Regions from separate parts of the Homo sapiens genome. Here all the other regions are linked to region 3. Evidence: promoter capture Hi-C in human tissues and cell types (Jung and others, 2019). All regions are on one chromosome and are shown on one strand. Each heading gives the region's core, a stretch centred on a gene start or on the middle of the fragment in contact. The rest is flanking DNA. Distances are from core to core; before and after follow the strand shown.

Region 1 (4,595 bases), core at 415-2,914, 64 kb after region 3:
CCAGGTATTCGGGAGGCTGAGGCAGTAGAATTGCTTGAACCCAGGAGATGGAGGTTGCAGTGAGCCGACATGGTACCACTGCACTCCAGCCTCGGTGACAGAGTGAGACTCCGTCTCAAAAAAAAAAAAAGTAAAGGAGATAATTACACATATTAGGTTGATAGTACACAGAAGATTGGAGACTCTCTCTCTCAAAAATCTACTACAAACCTGATGAGATTCTGAGACCACTAATTAAGGGAAAATGTAGTGTCACTGCACCTCATCCAGTAATGGACACCAGGAAGGATCTACAGGAAAGCCAGATTCCCCAGAGTCCTCTGAGCAAAAGCAGCACAGAGATGGAGAAAAACAGTGAGAAAATGATACTCTAGAATAATATATTCTAAAAGGTAGTCTCAGCAAGGAGGCTACCTTCTCCCTGATTTGGGTCACAAGAGAGAACTGACTGAACCCCCATCTCAACTCCCCAGCAGTTTTCCAGAGGAAGCAGTGGCCACCTTGAGCCATCTTGGCCTCCTGGCAGGAGGGCCAAAACAAATCTTCTAAACAATATTAAGCCAGATTAAAGGTAAAAATCTGTCTGAGTACAAACAGCTGAGCTTTCTAAGGAACGAACTAGTATTCACACCATTAGTCTTTAATGCTTGAAAGAGCTCAACAATCCATTTAGAATCTATCACAGTCAACACTTTCATAACTGAGTCCTTCACCCCCTGTCCCCTTGTTACCCTTTATAATTTGTTCAATTGTGAAGAGAAAACCTTTCAGTAGAATCAAGAAGAGCTCTTGCTGGGCTGTTGTAATGAAGGAGCTAACAACCTGTTGGTAGTTAGGATTAAGTATTATCAAGACAACTTATAAAGAAAAGGCCAAATCTTTTCCAAAAGAAAAATGGATCCAGGGTAGTAAACAACCAATGTAAGCCAAAAAAAAAAAAAGACTAATGACTTAGAAGGAACACATGTGACCAATGTGGTGTTCAGAAGAAACTTGCAGTTCTATTAGATCAACATGTAACCAGAGGATTAAAAGTCCTATTTATTTATGAATGCTTTTTCTTTTTCGTTTCTGTTGAGATGGAGTGTCATTCTGTCGCCCAGGCTAGAGTACAGTGGCGCGACGCTGGCTCACTGCAACCTCTGCTTCTCGGGTTCAAGTGATTCTCCTGCCTCAGCCTCCCAAGTAGCTGGGATTACAGGCACTCAACACCACGCCCAGCTATTTTTGGTATTTTTACTAGAGATGGGATTTCACCATGTTGGCCAGGCTGGTCTCGAACTCCTGACCTCAAGTGATCATCCTGCCTCGGCCTCCCAAAGTGTGGGGATTATGGGCATGAGCCACCACACCCGGCACTATGAATGCTTTTTCTATTTCTAGAAACATTAACTGAGGAAAAAACTAGAAATTAAAAACTAGAAAGTTTCTTGTCCAAAAGGAGTCTCAAGATAATTACTGAGTAATCTGAGTCTCTAATCAGAGATAAAAAAGGTATCTATTGTTCCCTCCATATCAAGGGCCAAAAAGGGTACCATTCATTAGGTTACTGTTTCCAGCAAACCCATTCTCCAATTCATTTCCACTATTCCCCAGAGGAAATCTCATCCCTGTTTAAAGAGCAAACCCTAAGATGGTGGAATCTCTTTGACAGTCATTTTGTACATTCACAAAACCATGAGTAAAGAATACTTACAGGCTGGGTGTGGTGGCTCAAGCCTGTAATCTCAGCACTTTGGGATGCCAAGGTGGCAGGATTACTTGAATTCAGAAGTTTGAGACCAGCCTGGGCAAATAGTGAGATCCTATACGTAGAAAAAAACTTTTTTTTTTTTTTGAGACAGAGTCTCACTCTGTTGCTCCGACTGGAGTGCAGTAGTGCGATCCTGGCTCACTGCAAGCTCTGCCTCCCGGGTTCACGCCATTCTCCTGCCTCAGCCTCCTGAGTAGCTGGGACTACAGGTGCCCACCACGATGCCTTAGTAGAGACGGGGGTTTCACAGTGTTAGCCAGGATGGTCTCGATCTCCTGACCTTGTGATCCGCCTGCCTCGGCCTCCCAAAGTGCTCGGATTACAGGCGTGAGCCACCAAGCCCGGCCTTTTCTTTTTTTTGCGACAAAGTCTCGCTCCTGTCCCCACGCTGGAATGCAATGGCGCGATCTTGGTTCACTGCAACCTCCGCCTCCCAGGTTCAAGCGATTCTCCTGTCTCGGCCTCCCAAGTAGCGGTGATTACAGGCACCTGCCACCACTCCCGGCTAATTTTTGTATTTTAGTAGAGAGTGTTTCACCATGTTGGCCAGGCTGGTCTCAAACTCCAGACCTCAGGTGATCCACCCGCTTCGGCCTCCCAAAGTGCTGGGATTACAGGTGTGAGCCACCACGCCCAGCCAAAACATTTTTTTTTTAATTAGCTGGGCATGGTGGCATGTGCCTGTAGTCCCAGCTACTCAGGAGGCTAAGGTAGGAGGATCGCTTGAGCCCAGGAGGTAGAGGCTGCAGTGAGCCATGATCACGCCACTACGCTCCAGCCGGGGTGACTCAGCAAGACACTGTTTCAAGAAAATGAATAATGGCTGGGCGTGGTGGCTCACACCTGTAATCCCAGCACTTTGGGAGGCCAGGTGGGCGGATCATGAGATCAGGAGATCGAGACCATCCTGGCTGACACGGTGAAACCCCGTCTCTACTAAAAATACAAATAATTAGCCGGGCGTTGTGAGGCACCTGTAGTTCCAGCTACTCAGGAGGCTGAGGCAGGAGAATGGCGTGAACCCGGGAGGCGGAGCTTGCAGTGAGCCGAGGTCGCACCACTGCCCTCCAGCCTGGGAGACAGAGCGAGACTCCGTCTAAAATAAAAAATAAAAAAAAGAAAATGAATAATCATGTTTAATAACTATAATACTTTTCAAAGCTTATGGGGTCTAACTGCCAAAATCATAAATTAAAAATTCACAGATTATTCCTGATTTTAATTCAGTTTGGCTCATAATTTGATAAGATGTTGATTTCAATTGATGAATTTCAATCTACTCAGAATTGCTGGCCAGGCGCGGTGGCTTACACCTGTAATGCCAGCACTTTGGGAGGCCGAGGCGGGCAGGTCACCTGAGGTCGGGAGTTTGAGATCAGCCTGGCCAACATAGTGAAACCCTGTCTCTACTAAAAATATAAAAATTAGCCGGGCATAGTGGTGGGCACCTGTAATCCCAGCTACTTGGGAAGCTGAAGTATGAGAATCGGTTGAACTCGAGAAGCAGAGGTTGCAGTGAGCCAAGATCGCGCCACTGCACTCTAGCTTGGGTGACAAGAACGAGACTGCGTTTAAAAAAAAAAAAATTGCTGACAGTAGAAATACTAAGATATTCTTTCTTTATGCACATATACCAGGCAATATAAACTCCCTTGTTGCCAAATTCAAACATTTCTCATACCTTATCTTGCTGACAGAAATCAGACACTTAACTTCCTTCTGCCTTAATGACCCCCTCTTGATCTCTATGATGTCTTTTGCAGCACCTGTTCAGGTACTCTGTGCTCTTCCTCTTGTATCCCCATCTTGCCAGTGGGGGGCACCACATTCCCACTCCTCTCAAGGTAGGACTGTTGGCCTTTTCCTCCACGTCTCACTCTTCCTTAACCACTTTACCCTCTCCCATCATCACCACTCCAGTGTCCAATCTCTAGTTCTTCCTCTCCTCAGCACTCCCATCAGAAGGGCCTCACTCACATGGAAAGGCATCTTAATGTATATCCCTTCCACTCCATCATCCTCAGGATGAGCTTCCTGACACCCTTATGCAACAGTAATAATAACACAATTCTTGCAGATCCCTTAACTCTTGCCAGGATCAGTTCCTACCTTGTTTAAAACCCATCACTGCTCTCCAGTATTGACAGGACAAACTTTATATGCCTTAGTAGAAGAGAGTCTTCAGGACCCATCACCTAATTCCTCCCCACAGCAATTCACTGAATGATTCCAGAACCCCCATATGTTTCTCTTAACTGTCAGCTACCAATAATGCCCTTCTTTGTAGCATACATTTAGAAATTAAAGAACATACTTCTATAGAACCCCTGTGTCAAAGCAGGAATCAAAAGAGAAATTAGAAAATGTTTTGAACTGAATAACAAAAATACTACATAATTTGTGAGATGCAGCTAATATAATGCCTACACAAAAATTTAAAACTATAAATGTATATATTAAAAAAGGTCCAAAAATCAATGACATAAAGATCTAACCTAAGACGCTAGAAAAATTTAGTCACTGCCGTGTATTACAGCTAAAAAAGGGAAGCTAGAAAAAGATGACTAAGTTAAAACGAAGTAAAAAGAAGAAAATAGTAACAATTAAAAAGAGAAAGAAATAAAATCCAAGTAACAGCAAAAATTAACGAAGTCTAAAAATGGATTCTTTAAAAATATCAACAAAGTTGATAAAACAGAACAATTAGGAAAAAAGAGAAAACAAATTATCCATAACAGAGGTAGAAGATGGACCACCCCCTACAATTCTTATAGACATTAAAGGGAAAATAAGAAAATGTTATGAATAACCTAATTCTAATAAAATTGACATCTTAAATGAA
Region 2 (4,345 bases), core at 1,559-4,058, 34 kb before region 3:
GTCTCTACTAAAAATACAAAAATTAGCCGGGTGTGGTGGCACACACCTATAATCCCAGGTAATCCTACTCAGGAGGCTGAAGCAGGAGAATTGCTTGAACCTGGGAAGCAGAGGTTGCAGTGAGCTGAGATCGTGCCACTGCACTCCAACCTGGGGCAACATAGCAAGACTTTGTCTCAAAACAAACAAACAAAAAAACTATTAGTGCTGGGTGCAGTGGCAGTTGCCTGTAATCCCAGCAGTCTGGGAGGCTGAGGTGGGAGGAATGCTTGAGCCCAGGAGTTTGAGATCAGCCTGGGCAATATAGGAAGACCCTATCTCTACAAAAATTTAAAAAATATAGTCTAGTGTGATGGCACATACCTGTGGTCCCAGCGTAGATGCGAGGGTTGCATGAGCCTGGGAGGTTGAGGCTACTATGATCATGCCATTGCATTTCAGCCTAGAGAACAGAGTGAGACCCTGTCTAAAAGAACTGATTGGTAAAATATCTGGTCCCGTTAGAGTGGGATATAGGGCCTCTGGTCTTATGGGACTGATGAAGGTGCTATGCCTCGGTGGGCATAGGCTCCTGAGCATGCATATGTTTGTGGGAGCTGGTACAAACAAGTTAGATAAGGGACTGCACTTGGAAACATGGGCTGTAAGTGATTAATTAAGCAAAGGTTGACCAGGTGGTTTCATAGAGGCAGTATCATATTATCCTAGGTGACATTGTTAAGGACCTGCTAAATATCTAGCTGTTGGGCCTAGAAATAGAATAAGAGAAGGTTTTTTGCTTCATATAGCTTAGAGTCTAGTTGTGAAAAGTAAGAACTCAGGATTTCTTTTCCTTCGAATTATTTATAAGGCAGAATAATTATGACATATACACAAAGACAAACTGGGAATTTAGAAATTCTAGGTTAAGAAGTCAACAGAGGTCTTTGTGGACAAAATGACGTTTGAACTGTAGTTTATTTATTTTTGAGACAGGTTGTTGCTTTGTTTCCCAGGTAGGAGTATGGTAGTGATCATAATTCACTGTAGCCTCTAACTCCTGGGCTCATAAAATCCTCCCGCCTCAGCCTCCCAAGTAGCTGGGACTATAGGCACAGACTACCACACTCGGCATATATATATATTTGTAGAGACAGGGTCTCACTGTGTTGCCCAGGCTGCTCTTGAACTCCTGGCCTCAAGTGATCCTCCCACCTTGGCCTCCCAGAATGTTGGGATTACAGGCATGAGCCACTGCACCCTGCCTTGAACTGTTGAACTGTAGTTTATAGTTTAGATAAACAAAAGAATGGAACAGCATAAATACAGAGCCAAGGATGGACAGAAGGGACATGCCCTAATGCAACTTGAGAAGGGAACTGTGAGAATGGAGTTAGTATTGAGGGGTGGGGGTGGGGTTGTTGCCTTCCCAAAGTAGAACTGAGTTTGATCTAATCTGTGGTAGGAAATCAGGAATTTCCTAGATTTGTGGTAACAGGAGGAATCAAGTAGATGTGTGTAGAATTGACTGCATATAGGAGAAACTAGCCAGTAGATTTGTAACAGGTCTCTATGCTCAGCTTTTGTTCACAGAGATGGAGCCCATTAGGCCTCCCCTAGCTCTCCTGGGCCTGATGGTCCAATTGCAGGTCAGTGCCTCATTTGGTACTTAGTGGTCTCTGTTTATAATTTCCATGTCTGGGTCTTCAGCAGGAGAAGATCCTTTCTGGAGTTCATTTTAGTGGGCCAGTGTTCTTCAGAGGCTGTATCTGATTTGGGAAAGTCTTAGAGTGATTTACATGAAGTTATTATTACCAGAAATAGAAAAATTGTGAAGAATCCCGATTTTCCATCCCAAGGGAAAGATGCCAAGGGAAAGATGAGTTTGTCTATATATACCACAAACATCCCTCTCCCCTCTTATGCAGGCTCTGTGCTAGGAGCTGGGGAATAGAGATGAATAAGACAGTCTTTTCTACCCTTGGACCACTTTACAGCACATGCAGAAGACAGTCAAGTTGAACCCTAAGGGGAGCTAGTGACAAAATGTGTTCCTTCATCTGCCACAGGTTGGAGAGGGCCATACCTTTTATGAAAGCTATCATATCTTCTGTCTTTAAAACCAGATTTATGGTGAAATCTCACTTCCTCACACCAACCGCCATCTGTGGCCCCATTTTTCTGTTCTACTTTATTGCCAGAACTCTAAAGAAACATTATCTACACAAGCTGGGCTCTAGATGCTGTAAAAATTTCCCTTCAACTCATGACTAAATCTGTTCTTGTCAAGGTCAGCAGTGACCCCCCTATAGCCAGTTCAGACCAGCAAGTATGTTTTTATCCTACAGCAACATACAACACAGCAGCCCATTGTTGAGACTTGTTTTTTTTTTTTTTTTTTTGAGACAGGGGGTCTCATTCTGTCACCCAGGCTGGAGTGCAGTGGTGCGATCTCGGCTCACTGCAACCTCCGCCTCCCGAGTTCACACCATTTTGCCTCAGCCTCCCGAGTAGCTGGGACTACAGGCGCCCGCCACCACACCCGGCTAATTTTTTGTATTTTTAGTAGAGACAAGGTTTCACCATGTTAGTCAGGATGGTCTCGATCTCCTGACCTCGTGATCCACCTGCCTCGGCCTCCCAAAGTGCTGGGATTACAGGCGTGAGCCACCGCGCCTGGCCGAGACTTTCTTTAGACTTGCATGTTATTACACATTCCTGATTTTCCTCCTACCCATCTGAATCTTCTTTATTCCCAGGAGGCTTACCGGTGCCTTCTCCTCCTCTCTCTGAATCATACATGTTGATGTTCCTGAGGGTTCAGTATTTGGCCCTCTTCTCCCTAAGGGATTTCTTTCCATTGCCATGGTTTTCAGCATCCTCCAGATGATTCTTGCTGCTGCTGAAGATGATAATCACTGATACTATCTGCCAGTACTACTGTTCTTGATGTTTAACATATTCTTCTAATTTTCACATTAACCTTATGAAGTATGTACTGATACTTCTGTTTTACAGATGAGGAAACTCAGGCACAGAGAGATTAAGTGACAAGGCCAAAGCCATGCTTAAAAAGTGGCAGAATTGGCCAGGCGTGGTGGCTCACACCTATAATCCCAGCACTTTTGGAGGCCGAGGTGGGTGGATCACGAGGTCAGGAGTTAAAGACCAGCCTGGCCAAGATGGTGAAACCCCGTCTCTACTAAAAAATAAAAAAATAAAAAAATTAGCTGGGCATGGTGGTGGGCGCCAGCTACCTGGGAGGCTGAGGCACAGAATTGCCTGAACCTGGGAGGTGGAGGTTGCAGTGAGCCGAGATCGCGCCACTGCACTCCAGCCTGGGTGACAGAGCGAAACTCCATCTCAAACAAACAAACAAAAAAGGGGCAGAATTGAGATTCAACCCTGCATGGGCTGGCCCTGGAGCCTGTGTCTTAATCCCTGTGCTGCACTGACACATAAGTCTCTCGGCCATGCCTTCCTCTGTTTGGAACCTTTTCCACATATTCAGCTGCCTACTTAGCATTTACTTGGACTTATTGACAATACCTCAGATCTTCATTGGCACCATTTCTAAAACTGTCAAACTTCCTTGTCTCAGAAAGTAGTGCTGCTCTCCGCCTAGTTGTTCAAACCAGAAACCCAGGAGTCATCTTTGTGTCTGCTTTCCCTTACTCCCCACAACCAGTTCATCAACAAGCCATGTTGGTTCTACCATCACACCTCTCAAAATCTCTTATATCATCTCCACTGCCACCACTATAGTCTAGGCCACCAGTACTTGCTTCCATTCTTGTTCTTCAATTTATTCTTCATAGAATAATCATAAAATACAAGATTATGTCACTTCCTAGCTTAAAACTCTCCAAGGCTTCCATTATATGTAGGAACAAATTTACACCACAATGTACAATACTCTGTATGAGTAGCTTTCAACCTGGGTTGCATTATTGCCTCCTCCACCCACTGATAGACATTTGGACACGTTTGGAAGAATTTTTGGAAGATGCTTGGGAATGTTAACTGACATTTAGTGTTTGGAAGCACACAGTGAAGGGGGCCTGCTACAGAAGCACTGCCTCCCATGCTCTAGCCACTGCCTACTTGTTCAGCCAGACTCCTGGATTTCCAGTTTGGGTAAATGATGTTGCCATTGAACGAAGGAGAGAGGTAACTCAGGAGAATAGATCTGGGCAGGGAAGCTAATGAATACTCTTTGTAGATGTTAGTTTGAGGTGGCTATGAGTTGTTCAGTTGGAGATGTATAGTACCCACTAGGTATATTAAGCGGAGGGGGGGGGGGGCGCAGGGGGGGTTCTAGCTTGGAGGTACATAGTGGTCACTTTGACAAATATGGATATCCAAA
Region 3 (3,676 bases), core at 108-2,607:
CTATTGGTAGAGGAGCAAGATACTCCAACTGAGGCCTATTTTCTATTATGGTCGCATTATTTGGTTGGCCCGTAAATGGCTGTTGCCTAAAACAGGAAGCTTTAAGGATCGTTGTTAAAGCACACCAGGTTAAAGGAGTCACATTAAAAGCTGGTCATTCTGAGCCGGGCGCGGTGGCTCACGCCTGTAATCCCAGCACTTTGGGAGGCCGAGGCAGGCGGATCACCTGAGGTCGGGAGTTCGAGGCTTGACAAACATGGAGAAACCCCGTCTCTATTAAAAATACAAAAGTAGCCGGGCGTGGTGGCGCGTGCCTGTAATCCCAGCTACTTGGGAGACTGAGGCAGGATAATCACTTGAACCCGGGAGGGGGAGGTTGCGGTGAGCCAAGATCACACCACTGTACTCCAGCCTGGGCAACAGGAGCGAAACTCCGTCTCAAAAAAAAAAAAAAAAAGTCTGGTAATTCTGGAAGCCATCATGATGGTTGTGATTTCTCAGGTATCAAGAGAAGAAAACCGCCAACTGTATCAGAGTGCTTATTTATTGGGCATAAAGACCACCCGGGCTGGGTGCAGTGGCTGATGCCTGTAATCCCAGCACTTTCGGAGGCCGAGGCGGGCAGGTCACGAGGTCAGGAGTTCGAGACCAGCCTGGCCAACATGGCGAAACCCCGTCTCTACTAAAAATACAAAAATTAGCCGGGCGTGGTGGCGGGCGCCCGTAATCCCAGCTACTCGGGAGGCTGAGGAGGAGAATCCTGTGAATCCGGGAGGTGGAGGCTGCAGTGAGCCGAGATCGTGCCACTGCACTCCAGCCTGGGAGACAAGAGCAAGACTCCGTCTCAAACAAACAAAAAAACACCCATATCTCAAACGAGAAAATGCTTGCAAATAACCTGAAACCGCGGAACACTATTCTTTTTAAAACGAGATATTTTAAGTAGGTCGTGAAAGTGGCCTTAATGTTATACTGCCTTATTCCAGTGACGAATATTCATCATGTGTAAAATGGGAGAAATGAAATGTTATTAAAACAAACATGTGAGACTTCGATGAGAAGAGACGGTACCCGGTCTAAGCGCCCACCGGGTCGCGAGGATCCTTTTCCTGGTTAAGGCCTGGGTCACAGCGAAAGAACCCTAGGCCCAGGGAGGGCCCCGAGATTTCAGATCCGGGGCCCGGCTGTGCAGGTGGACCACGCGGAAGGGGCGCTGGGGGCGGTAGGTCGAAAGCAGCCGACAGGGCTACCACTGGCGCACCTGTCCACTTACGGGGACCACCGCCGCATCCCCGCCCCAGCTAGTCGGTCCTTTCCGGAAGTTCCACCTCCCTAAATTTTTTTCCGGTTCCGCTTACTCCTTCCGGTCACCATGGCGACCAGGCGCCTTGGGGTCGGGGAGACGCTGGGGGCCCTCAACGCGGCCCTGGGGCCAGGCGGTCCGGTGTGGATCAAGGAGACGCGCACCCGCCACCTGCGTTCCCGAGACTTTCTGGCACCGCACCGCGCGCTGCAGGCGCGCTTCGATGACGGCCAGGTGGGCGTGAGCCGGGCGGGGCCGTGCGGCCGGGAGATGGGCCCCGTGCCGTGGCTCTTTTACACGCCCGTTCTCCCGCAGGTTCCGGAGCATTTGCTCCATGCCCTCGCCTGCCTGCAGGGCCCCGGTGTGGCCCCGGTGCTGCGCTGCGCGCCGACCCCCGCGGGTCTGTCTCTCCAACTGCAGCGGTCCGCCGTCTTCGAGCGCGTCCTCAGCGCCGTGGCCGCCTATGCCACGCCCGCCTCGCCTGCCTCGCTGGGCCAGCGCGTCTTACTACACTGCCCAGCACTGCGCAGCTCCCCCTGCGCACTCCGCTTGAGCCAGCTGCGTACGGTGCTCGTGGCCGATCACCTGGCGCGAGCCCTGCGCGCTCACGGGTGAGCGGGGCCGCGGGGCCGGAATGGAGAAAGTGGGACTGCCGGGTACCTAGAAAGCGAGCGGCGCCGCCCGTGGGGACTGCGGCTGGAGGTGGGAAGTCGTGGCGAGCTGGACCAGGTGCTCAGACTGAGGCGGCCGCCCTCCCTTCGCAGGGTGTGCGTGCGCCTAGTGCCAGCTGTGCGGGATCCGCACATGCTGACCTTCCTGCAGCAACTGCGGGTGGACTGGCCCGCTGCCTCGGAGAGAGCTTCCTCCCACACCCTGAGGAGCCACGCCCTTGAAGAACTTACCTCTGCTAATGACGGGAGGACACTGTCCCCTGGCATCCTAGGCAGACTGTGTCTGAAGGAGCTGGTGGAAGAACAGGGCCGCACAGCTGGCTATGACCCCAACCTGGACAACTGTCTGGGTAGGACCTGAAGCCTAGCAGGGCCAGAAAAGGCAGGAGGGGGTTAGGGGCACATCTCTGCTTCTTGTCAGTCTCAGCACCTGTCTGTTCTCTTTTCAGTGACTGAGGATCTCCTCTCTGTGCTGGCTGAGCTGCAAGAGGCTCTATGGCATTGGCCCGAGGACAGCCACCCAGGCCTGGTTAGTGACTCCCAGCCCTGTAGGTTCTCCCAAACCAAGTATACTGTACTTCCACAGTTATGATTGTCCTCCCTTAGGCTGGGGCCTCAGATACTGGTACAGGCGGCTGCCTGGTTGTACATGTTGTTAGCTGTGAGGAGGAGTTCCAGCAACAGAAGTTGGACCTGCTTTGGCAGAAGTTGGTTGACAAGGCTCCACTCAGACAGGTAGGTTAATAATGATGGTGGAGCTCCCCACCACCTAACCCCCAACCTCAGAGGGCCCTTGAAAACCCACCGAGGGGCTTGTTAGCTGACAGAAACCAACACTTGACCTTGGGGGAGTTGCTGGACTTGAGAGGGCATGTACAGCAGGTGCAGAGGCTCTGGGGAAGGGGGGTCTGTAGACACATCCCAAGAACACTGAAGACCAGGTTGAGAAGGATGAACCATGCGTAGCCTGAGTGGCTGGGTAGACGGAGGCACTCAACCTGGCAGTTCCAATTTGAGGGAGTCTGGGCTGAGTAGAGGCACCAGATTTGGGCTCCTCAAGGGACTTCCTGGAGAGTAGCGCCAACTAGGCTGAGCCCCTGACATCTTTCTGACAGAAGCACCTCATCTGTGGCCCTGTGAAAGTAGCTGGTGCACCTGGCACTCTGATGACTGCCCCTGAGTACTACGAGTGAGTGAGGCTGGGAGGAACACCAACCTAAGCCAGGGTAATGAGGGGGGACTCTTTACCCAGGACCCTGCCCACTGGCCTTCCTCTCTTCCAAACACAGGTTCCGGCATACCCAGGTGTGCAAGGCCTCAGCACTGAAGCATGGTGGGGATCTGGCACAAGGTGTGCCTGGGAAACCCTGGCTATGTTCTGGGTTAGGGGCAGGTTTTTTGCATCCCTGCCCTTGCCTGCAGACTGACTGACCAACCCTATACTCCCTCAGACCCAGCCTGGACAGAGATCTTTGGTGTTCTCTCTGTGGCCACCATCAAGTTTGAGATGCTGAGCACAGCCCCACAGAGTCAGGTGAGCCTGGGAGCCTGACAGGGCCAGTGTTGGGGCACAGGGTGTGGTGGCTGCCTTCTCTCTCTGCAGCTGTGCTTCTATTCCCCAGCTCTTCCTGGCTCTGGCTGACAGCAGTATCTCCACGAAGGGCACAAAGAGTGGCACCTTTGTCATGTATAATTGTGCCCG

Evidence for each region. Contacts are between HindIII fragments. The study calls those that stand out against the background at their distance.
Region 1: a contact is called between a fragment that was not itself captured here and the fragment with the promoter of DALRD3 in region 3, in 3 of the 25 tissues and cell types used here (adrenal gland, hippocampus and pancreas).
Region 2: a contact is called between a fragment that was not itself captured here and the fragment with the promoter of DALRD3 in region 3, in 2 of the 25 tissues and cell types used here (adrenal gland and pancreas).

The regions. Positions count from the first base shown.
Region 1 is chr3:48,951,679-48,956,273 of GRCh38, reverse strand. All of the region lies in intron 3 of ARIH2 (ariadne RBR E3 ubiquitin protein ligase 2), which reads right to left. Among named protein-coding and RNA genes, the nearest start is that of ARIH2OS, 35 kb to the right of the region's middle. The HindIII fragment of the contact is 8,935 bases long and covers 1-4,595 here.
Region 2 is chr3:49,051,523-49,055,867 of GRCh38, reverse strand. All of the region lies in intron 3 of QRICH1 (glutamine rich 1), which reads left to right. Among named protein-coding and RNA genes, the nearest start is that of IMPDH2, 24 kb to the right of the region's middle. The HindIII fragment of the contact is 9,844 bases long and covers 1-4,345 here.
Region 3 is chr3:49,016,261-49,019,936 of GRCh38, reverse strand. It overlaps DALRD3 (DALR anticodon binding domain containing 3), which reads left to right and starts at 1,357. Exons shown (of 12, transcript NM_001009996.3): 1 at 1,357-1,537; 2 at 1,619-1,914; 3 at 2,068-2,324; 4 at 2,424-2,503; 5 at 2,581-2,709; 6 at 3,090-3,163; 7 at 3,264-3,325; 8 at 3,426-3,508; 9 at 3,597-3,676. The coding sequence starts at 1,373. RefSeq lists a silencer at 2,127-2,361 and enhancers at 1,810-2,581, 2,867-2,936. The HindIII fragment of the contact is 18,150 bases long and covers 1-3,676 here.